Linked DNA regions of Homo sapiens: regions 2 and 3 are each linked to region 1. The links are contacts of gene promoters, found by promoter capture Hi-C in human tissues and cell types (Jung and others, 2019). All regions are on one chromosome and are shown on one strand. The core of a region is centred on a gene start or on the middle of the fragment in contact, and the rest is flanking DNA. Distances in the headings are between cores, read along the strand shown. Region 1 holds the start of RBM14 (RNA binding motif protein 14). Region 2 overlaps KDM2A (lysine demethylase 2A). Region 3 holds the start of POLD4 (DNA polymerase delta 4, accessory subunit).

Region 1 (3,187 bases), core at 176-2,675:
TGGTGACACATTTTTCTCGAAGAAAAGGCACCGGGATCTGCCCTGAGAATCAGACTACTCAAGCAATGACTACTACTGATTCAGTAAACCGTGTTTAGCCACTGTTTAATGAAGAGCTCTCACAGACCCCTCCCCAGGACCCCCTCAGCCAGAGTATGCCCCCCTGCAAAGTCACCAAGCTTATAAAAGAATGACACTGCCCTAGGGCACTGGCTTGGCATGTAAAGACTACGCAGAAGGGGACTTCATAAAACAAGCTTTCTTGCACATGCAAAAGGCTGGGGTTTCCAGTTGACAGATGTAAAATCGAGCCCAAAGAAAAACCCCAAGTTTGAGGGAGGAGAAAAGCACAGAGCTGCCACGCCTAACCTACCTAATATTGAAAGGCCAAAGTGATTCGGAAGGGGCCCCTCTCGTACCCACGTGTAACTGTGCCCATGAGTAGACCCATGCCAGACAAGACTAAAAGACCCCAGCCCGAGAAACGTCCAAGGGCCCCGTTACCTTCCGCTTGAGCACATTCATCGGGAGGGAACAGGAGGGCGGCCTTGGGGCGTCAGCCCCCACCTTTTCCCTCTTCCCTTGCTCTGACCGACGTCTGGAGAGGAAGTGGGGAAGTGGAGAAATCTTCCCCGCTTCATGATCCGGCTTGTGCCCGTCACTTCCCAATTTCCGCTGGGTGCCAGGCCCAGGAGACCAGGAGAAGGCGCGCCCCCGGAACACTCGCAAGGCTCTCAGGCGCGTCCCCGGCCCCGTAGCTTGGCTCGCAGTGGCCGCCGCACCCACCCAGAGCCGCTTCCTCCTACTTGGTGGACGGTTCCTGGACCGCAGGGGAGGAGGGTGGCTCTACCCAACGCGCCCCCAACACCTCCGACCTGCTCCCGCGCACTTCCCCACCCCTCCCAACCGCGCAGTGACCGACCCCCGGGTAAGGGGCGTGGCTAACAGGCAGAGTGCCCCGAGCGCGCCCCCGCCCCCGAGCGCGCCTCCGCGTTACCTTTCACCACGTCACACTCGATGACGCGTCCGCGGCGCTCGAAGAGGCTGCGCAGTTCCTGGCTCGTGCATGCAGCCGACACATTGCCCACGAAAATCTTCCAAGTATTAAGAGGCCTTGGGCGCGACATCTCCACCACGAGCGCGCGCCCCGGCCGCAGCTCGTGGCCGTGCAGGGCTTCGATGGCGCGCAGCGCGCCCGCGTTCTCGCGCATGTGCACGAAGGCGAACTGTTTCATGACGGCGCAGCTCATGACCGTGCCGTAGGGCGCAAAGAGGGCTGCCAGCTCCTCCGGAGTCGTATCCGCCCCGTCGACGTTGCCCACGAATATCTTCATTTTGTCGCCGCAGCCACCTTCCTGGAGAGCCCGGACCTCTCCTCCAGCGACAGGCAAGACGTCCGAACGACCGGCAGTCCTCCTCAGGAATGGCTGGCGACCGAGAACCCCGCCGCGCAGGCGCCCTGGCCTAGCCAATGGGGACTCGCATCCCGCGCGTCCAGCGACCAATCAGAAACGCTGAGGGAAGATGTGCTCAGGCACAGCCAATCCCAGAGGGCCTAGAGCCCGCTCGTTAGCTGAGGGGGTGGGAAAGGGACGACCAACCGCCACAGCCCGTGGCGGGAGAGGGGGTTGGGAAGAAGAGGGAGGGCTGAAGAGAGGAGAACGCGCGCGAGCGGCGCCGGCGGCAGAGAGGCCTAGTCTGTAAGGCGGTCTCTGGCCCGGGTGGGGCTGGGACCGGCGGGCTCCCAGGAAAACTTTGTACAATTGGAAGTCAGGGCTCCTCCCATTCTGGAAGCCCTGTCCAAACCCGCGCCTGGGGGTTGCCGCGTGAGTGTACGGGGGAAGGCCGGGCCTGGCGGGAGAAACCAGGACAGGCGCCTTGAGTCGGCAAACGGCTCCCAGGACTGTGCTGAGCACCGCGAGGGGACCTGAGGCAGGCCCCGGAGAAGCCCTCGTGCCATTAATTGATTCTTTGGAAACATTCCCTGGGGTTGCTGAGGTCCTGGCAGCCGGTGAAAAATCAAAGGCCTCTGCCCTGATGGAATTCCCAGTCAAGAAATAATGGAATGACGTTATTGTATGTTGAAGGTTTTCATAATAAACAGTTTAATAAACGAGAAAATTAATTCTGCAGGAAGCAAAAGTTGAGCCTTAAAAAAAATTTTAGTCCGGGAGCGGTGGCTCACGCCTGTAATTCCAGCACTTTGGGAGACCAAGGCAAGCAGATCACCGGAGGTCAGGAGTTCAGGACCAGCCTGGCCAAAATGGTGAAACCCCGTCTCTACTAAAAATACAAAATTAGCCGGGTGTGGTGGTGCGCGCCTGTAATCCCAGCTACTTGGGAGGCTGAGGCAGGAGAATCACTTGAACCCGGAAGGCGGAGGTTGCAGTGAGCCAAGATCACGCCACTGCACTCCAGCATGGGCGACAGTGAGATTCCGTCTCAAAAATTTTTTTAAACAGATTTGAGTATGTAAATAAGATTGTTGCATGGCAGACAACATCAAAAACATAGACATGTGACAAACTCAGGGAAATATTTGCCTACGTGTTCAGTCAACAAATAGCACCTACCATGTGGACACCACCAAGAATATAGCAGTGAACAAAAAAAAATGACAGAAATCCCAACCTTCTTGGATCTTATGGTGGGGAGAAACAGGCAAGAAATAAGTAAAACATAAGCGTGTTAGATGGTGATGAGGACTTGGAGTAATCAAGGGAACTAAGCCATCCTCTGAGGGAAGATCATGCCGGCCAGAAAGTACAAGTCAAAGAGTGCTGGGGCAGAAGCAAATCTGGTTCAAGGAAGAGTCAAGAGCCAGTATGGGCCAGGCCCGGTGGCTCACGCCTGTAATCCCAGCACTTTGGGAGGCTGAGGCGGGCGGATCACCTGAGGTCAAGAGTTCGAGACCAGTCTGACCAACATGGTAAAACCCTGTCTCTACTAAAACTACAAAACATTAGCTTTGCGCAGTGGCAGTATCATAGCCAATGAGGTTTATCCGAGGCGCAATTATTGCTAATTGAAAACAAAACATTAGCCATGCATGATGACTGGCACCTGTAATCCCAGCTACTCAGGAGGCTGAGGCATTAAAATCACTTGAACCCAGGAGGTGGAGGTTGCAGTGGGCTGAGATCACGCCACCACACTCCATCCTGGCCAACAGAGCAGGACTCTGTCT
Region 2 (3,201 bases), core at 665-3,164, 550 kb before region 1:
GAAAGAAGTAACTTGCCCAGGTTACAAAGCTAGTAATTGATGTGGCTAGGATCTAGAACCCAGGTACTTTGGTTCTAGAGCTGACAGTCCTAACCACTACTCTATGCTACAAAAATCCACTTGAGACTTCGACCAGACCAGTCTCTTAAGGTAACCGGAAGAAATTGTCAAGGACGACCTCAGATACAGCTTAAATGGGTCTGGCAGAGAGAGAGAAGGTGTAGTGGTGGGACCAGTCAGCAACAAAGAATGTCTTTTAGTCAGAAAACCATGCTTGGGCCAGGTGCGGTGGCTCACACCTGTAATCCCAGCACTTTCAGAGGCTGAGGCGGGCGGATCACTGGGTGAGGAGATCGAGACCATCCTGGCTAACATGGTGAAACCCCGTTTCTACTAAAAATACAAAAATATTAGCCCGGTGTGGTAGCAGGTGCCTGCAGTCCCAGCTACTCGGGAGGCTCAGGCAGGAGAATGGTGCGAACCCAGGAGGCGGAGCTTGCAGTGAGCTGAGATCGCGCCACTGCACTCCAGCCTGGGCGACAGAGCGAGACTCCATCTCAAAAAAAAAAAAAAAAAAAAAAGAAAGAAAGAAAAAAAAAAAACCCCATGCTTGGTAGGATAAAGGATTAGCAAAGGATCTTCCCTGGGGTAAGAGATTTCTGATATTTGTTAAGGGACACTACATTTCTAGCTATATTATTGTTTATCTAATATTCCACCATTCCTGGTTTCTAATTCTAGCTTTTCGTTGACAAACTACTGGTTGTTCAACTATTCTGGCTGAAATGAAAACACTGCTATTTCTAATCAGCATTTTCTATCACAAGGTGTTTGAACTCGGTACATTTATTGTGTGTATGCCATGAAAATGTGTTCTCACTTCCTATATTTGTAGTTATAATTTATTATAGACCTCTAAAAAGATGAAACTGTGGGCCAGGCATGGTGACTCACGCCAGTAATCACAGCGCTCTGGGAGGCCGAGGTGGGCAAATCACGAGGTCAGGAGTTCGAGACCAGCCTGGCCAGCATGGTGAAACCCCATCTCTACTAAAAATACAAAAATTAGCCTGCCATGGTGGCACGTGCCTGTAATCCCAGCTACTCAGGAGGCTGAGGCAGGAGACTCACTTAAATCCAGGAGGCAGAGGTTGCAGTGAGCCGAGATCTCGCCACTGTACTCTAGCCTGAGTGACAGAGTGAGACTCCGTCTCAAAAAAAAAAAAAAAAGAGAGAGAGAGAGAGAGAGAGAGAGAAGGAGAGAGAGAGAGAGAAGAAAAAAGAAAAAAGAAAGAAAAAAGAAACCAAGTGATGGGCTGAGCGCAGTGGCTCATGCCTATAATCTCAGCACTTTGGGAGGCTGAGGCAGGAGGATCACCTAAGGTCAGGAGTTCAAGAGCAGCCTGGCCAACATGGTGAAAACCCTTCTCTACCAAAAAACAATTAGCCAGGTATGGTGGCTCAGGCCCGTAATCCCAGCTACTCAGGAGGCTGAGGCACGAGAATCACTTGAACCTGGGAGGCAGAGGTTGCAGTGAGCCGAGATGGTGCCACTGCATTTCAGCCTGGGCAACAGGAGCGAAACTTCATCTCAAAAAAAAAAAAAAAAGAAAAAGAAAGAAAGAAAGAAACCAATCTTGTCACTATTAGATTTTCATGTCTCACACTGTGATACGATTTAAAAAAAAAAAATTTAGGGCATTGTTTTGTAAAGTTATATAAAGCTACATGGATTAGGCCGGGTGCAGTGGCTCACGCCTGTAATCCCAGCATTTTGGGAGGCCAAGGCAGGTGGATTACGAGGTCAGGAGTTCAAGGCCAGCCTGGCCAAGATGTTGAAACCCCATCTCTACTAAAAATACAAAAATTGGCCAGGCGCGGTGGCAGGCGCCTGTGATCCCAGCTACTCAGGAGGCTGAGGCAAGAGAATCGCTTGAACCCCGGCAGCAGAGGTTGCAGTGAGCTGAGATCACACCACTACACTCCAGCCTGTGCGACAGAGTGAGACTCCATCTCAAAAAAAAAAAAAAAAAAAAAACTACATGGATTAAATCTGAATCTTTGCAACATATACCAAATCCCCACTTCATAGCCTTAATATGTACTTGAATAAATAAATACATTTTAAAGGAAAAAGCAACCTCAGGCTTTCACTCTGCTCTCCCACAACATATGAATGCATACATATCCAAAAAATCAACTGAACTTTAAAACGCTGTTGCTTTCATTTTCTTCTTTGCAACCTTTTGAAAACCCAGCACTGCTGCCAGGTCACACACTGGGCCATATGTGGATAGACGGACATTGCTGTCTATCCCCCCGACCGTGTGTGTGTGTGTGTGTGTGTGTGTGTGTGTGTGTGTGTGTGTGTGTGTGTGTGTGTGTGTGTGTGTGTGTGTGTGTGTGTATAATTCATACAAGACTGTGTGTGTGTGTGTGTGTGTATTATAATTCATACAAGACCATGCTGAATATAGAAAAAATAGCCAGACACTCTGTATACAAAAATTAAAATGTAGTCCTAGCACTCAAGAAGATTGCTGGCCACTAGGGGGCAACAAATATGTAAATAAATTATAGAATTACAATTTAATGTGCTATGTATTAAGACAGGTAGATACAAATGTTATTGAAGCCCAGTAGGAAGAACAACTAACACAGAGGGTTTGGGGGAAGCTCCACCTAAGAAGCCACATAAGAAAAATGCTGATTCATTCAGCATAACTTCACTGGACATCTACCAAGTTCCAAAGACCATAGATACAGACTGTGTTGCTCCTCTATAGCAGTGATCTCTTCAAATTTTAGGGGGTTTCTCTTCACTTACTAGATTTATCAGTATCTCCTTATTAATAAGATATATATAAAACTTTCTTCTAAAATAAAAGGTTATACAAAGTTTGATAATTTCATATCTCATGATGGATTTTAATTAAAATGCCCTAAGGAAGTATAAAAAGAGTCGGAATCACTGCCTTACAATGACTAAGCCTTAGGCCCAAGTTTTTATCTTTTGATCTATATAAAACTTTTTGTCCCTAAATGATAAATGGCCTGAGCACAGAGAATAAGGAAAAACACATGTTTACTTTTAACATAACTGCCATATATATTACAAAGAAGATGCAGTGATAAATTAACATGGCTGAAAAGCTTGCATTTCTTTTACTGAAAGGTCAGCCTTCAAATACATTCTGGAAA
Region 3 (2,975 bases), core at 41-2,540, 740 kb before region 1:
TCTCTGGAGGGTGATTAGAGCTGGGCTGGTCCCTGTGCTGGTTCCCAGACTCCCACTGGCCAGTACTTTTGCCTCCTGCCAGGAAGTTGGTGAGGGGGAGGCAGCAGTATGGGTGAGTCAGTGATGACAGGAGCCCAAGGGACAAAGGTCATGGGTGGAGAATTGAGAGACATTGTTTACAGCAGTCCACCTCCTCCAGGAGGCCTTCCAATGCTAATCATCCCTGTGGTCCTAACCAATCTCTGACCCACCCTTTCCCTCTTCTGGTAGGAATTATAGCCTCTCACTGACAACTGTGCATCTGTCTGCCTTGTGACAGTGAGCTCCTGGGGTGCAAGAGAGACTGTGGTTTGATTGGGGCCCTACAATGCCTGTGACTATCAGCAGTGATAATCATTTAGCTATACTTCCTACTTTCAAAAACTTTTTGACATCTATTTTAATTAACATGTGGGAAAGTGCTTAGAACAGTACTTGGCACATGGTACGTGCAATGAGTGTTAGGTTTATTATTAATATTTTCTGCTCAGACTCACATTATTGTGAGAGACAGGGCAGATTTTGCCAGTGAAGAACTAGGGATCCAAACACATTGTGGTGGGGGGACCAGACCCTTGCTCTGCCTTCCTACTCAGTATGGAATCTTCCTGACTGGTGGGGCGGGCCGGACACGACTTGGGACCCCAGGAGAGTCAAAACGGCAAACACTTACTCGGACTAAGAGTGGGCAGCATCTTTGGGCACAGACTGTGAGAAAGGAGGTTTCAGAACCCATGGGCTTCTCCAGCCAGGTCTCCTGGGGCCAGTGGGGGTTGGGTGGGAGCCGGGAAGGGGCCTGGATTAGCCCAAACTCTCTTCAGACCTCCAGACCTGCCCCCACAAGGCGGGGCGGGCCAAAGGACCGAGTGAAGGCTCCAGCTGGACTCTAGGGAGTTACAAACTGGCCACGGGGATTAGCGAAGCTGAAAAGAACATTTGCCTAGGAAGGGAAAACGGGAAGTGAGAGGCTGAAGATAACTCTCCTGAAGTCTCTCGGGACCCACAGCAGACCAATGGGGGCCGGGGAAGGTGGTGAAGTCGGGGCATCCCGACAGGTCCCCCGCCCCAGCCTGCCCCTCCTCCCGCGGCCCACAGCTGAGGCACCGCCCCGCCCCTCACCCTACACTGCCTACCATTGGCTAGCGCCAGGGCCCCGCCCCGCATAGGCGGCCTGCCATTGGCTGAAGTCTTTCCTGTTTGCGTGCTTTTGGGGGTGGGGGAGGCGTCCCTCCCTGGACCCCGGCGACTTCCTCTCTCGGTTTGTCTGGGTCATCTTGTCTGCCCGCCGCTGGCCTGGCCCCGTCTGTCTCTCTCAGCAGCTGTCTTTCTCGCGCCCACTGGCCGGTCTCTCCTCTTCCCCGCAGTTGCCTCCTTCTCTGCCTGCCTGGGTGGCCGCCATGGGCCGGAAGCGGCTCATCACTGATTCCTACCCGGTTGTGAAGAGGAGGGAGGGGCCCGCTGGGCACAGCAAGGGGGAGCTGGCACCCGAGCTAGGTCTCTGAGGTGTGAGGGAGGCAGGAGGAGTGGACACGGAGGGGCCTAGAGGAGGCCCCTAGAGGGGCGGAGGGGCCGATGGAAAGGGAAAGGTGGCCTGTCCTCCCCTCCCGACACCAGGTCTAGCTGCGGGGTGGCAGAGGCAAAGCGGTGGTGAGGAAGGCTGGGAGGTGAGGGGCAGGAGACTGAAGCCAACCTCGTACTGAAGAGCAGCTGTCATTGCAGGGGAGGAGCCCCAGCCCCGCGACGAGGAGGAAGCGGAGCTGGAGCTGCTGAGGCAGTTTGACCTGGCCTGGCAGTACGGGCCCTGCACCGGTGAGAACCCACCCAGCCCCACGGAGGCGCCTCTCCCAGCCAGTCACCCACACGTCTCTGAAGTCACCCAAGCGCTTGCGTGACTCTGACCCTCAGGAACTGTCTCCCCCCAACACACACATTCTCCAGCTCAGACTCTACCCCACCCCCCACAAGTCTCCAGAGTCTTCTTCCCACCCTGGCAGGGATCACACGGCTGCAGCGCTGGTGTCGGGCCAAGCAGATGGGCTTGGAGCCTCCCCCAGAGGTGTGGCAGGTGCTGAAGACCCACCCCGGAGACCCCCGCTTCCAGTGCAGGTCAGAGACAGGCCGGGAGGGCTTTCAGGGGAGCCAGGGCCTTCTCCAGGCACTGTCACCCTGCTGTCCTGACCTGAGGGAGAAATGGATGGAGGGTTGGAAGGCCTTGCTGAACAGGCAAGAAGATTCTATGAGGTGCCTGGCTCAGGAGGACACGCCACTATAATAATTCTTTTTTTTTGAGACAGAGTCTTGCTCTGTTGCCCAGGCTGGAGTGCAGTGGCGCGATCTCGGCTCACTGCAAACTCCGCCTCTCGGGTTCACGCCATTCTCCTGTCTCAGCCTCCCAAGTAGCTGGGACTACAGGCGCCCGCCAACACGCCCGGCTAATTTTTTCTATTTTTAGTAGAGACAGGGTTTCACCGTGTTAGCCAGGATGGTCTTGATCTCCTGACCTCGTGATCCCACCCACCTCAGCCTCCCAAAGTGCTGGGATTACAGGCGTGAGCCACCACACCCGGCCAATAATTCTTACCTCTACAAGCTAGTGGGGGGCAAAGGTACACCCAGGACCCAAGGAACTATCTATTTAGAACTGAGGGGTTTCCCAAGGACTATGGGCATGGCCAAGAATAAGCTGGTGAAATCAGATCCAGGGACTCAACAACTGATTCTCTGTTTCTCTCTCTCTCTCTCTGGGGTATCCCTCCCTCCCACCCCATCTTCCACAGTCTCTGGCATCTCTATCCCCTATGAGGCACCACGTAAGACCTCCTGCCCTTAGCTCTCTTGCTCACCACCCAAGAACCTCAGGACAGAAGCGAGAGCCCATTGCTCCTGCTCAGCTCAGCCCGGCTGCGGAGGAACCCTTGGCAGGCAGAACCTGGAGG

The links. The method cuts DNA at HindIII sites, captures the fragments that hold promoters and counts their contacts. A contact is called where the count stands out against the background at its distance.
Region 2: a fragment that was not itself captured here is called in contact with the fragment with the promoter of RBM14 in region 1 in 1 of the 25 tissues and cell types used here (hippocampus).
Region 3: the fragment with the promoter of POLD4 here is called in contact with the fragment with the promoter of RBM14 in region 1 in 2 of the 25 tissues and cell types used here (ovary and spleen).

The regions. Positions count from the first base shown.
Region 1 is chr11:66,614,868-66,618,054 of GRCh38, reverse strand. RBM14 (RNA binding motif protein 14) reads right to left here and starts at 1,425. Exons shown (of 3, transcript NM_006328.4): 1 at 998-1,425. The coding sequence starts at 1,334. RBM14-RBM4 (RBM14-RBM4 readthrough) reads right to left here and starts at 1,425. Exons shown (of 2, transcript NM_001198846.2): 1 at 998-1,425. The coding sequence starts at 1,334. It also overlaps the pseudogene RNU4-39P. RefSeq lists enhancers at 1,180-1,409, 542-1,475, 1,840-1,949. The HindIII fragment of the contact is 10,275 bases long and covers 1-3,187 here.
Region 2 is chr11:67,167,789-67,170,989 of GRCh38, reverse strand. All of the region lies in intron 2 of KDM2A (lysine demethylase 2A), which reads right to left. Among named protein-coding and RNA genes, the nearest start is that of KDM2A, 50 kb to the right of the region's middle. The HindIII fragment of the contact is 4,890 bases long and covers 1-3,201 here.
Region 3 is chr11:67,351,861-67,354,835 of GRCh38, reverse strand. It overlaps POLD4 (DNA polymerase delta 4, accessory subunit), which reads left to right and starts at 1,290. Exons shown (of 4, transcript NM_021173.5): 1 at 1,290-1,533; 2 at 1,759-1,848; 3 at 2,034-2,145; 4 at 2,817-2,975. The coding sequence starts at 1,437. The coding sequence ends at 2,841. The region is part of intron 2 of LOC100130987 (a long non-coding RNA gene); the gene reads right to left. RefSeq lists a silencer at 973-1,222 and enhancers at 1,403-1,452, 1,446-2,027, 2,028-2,610. The HindIII fragment of the contact is 15,541 bases long and covers 1-2,975 here.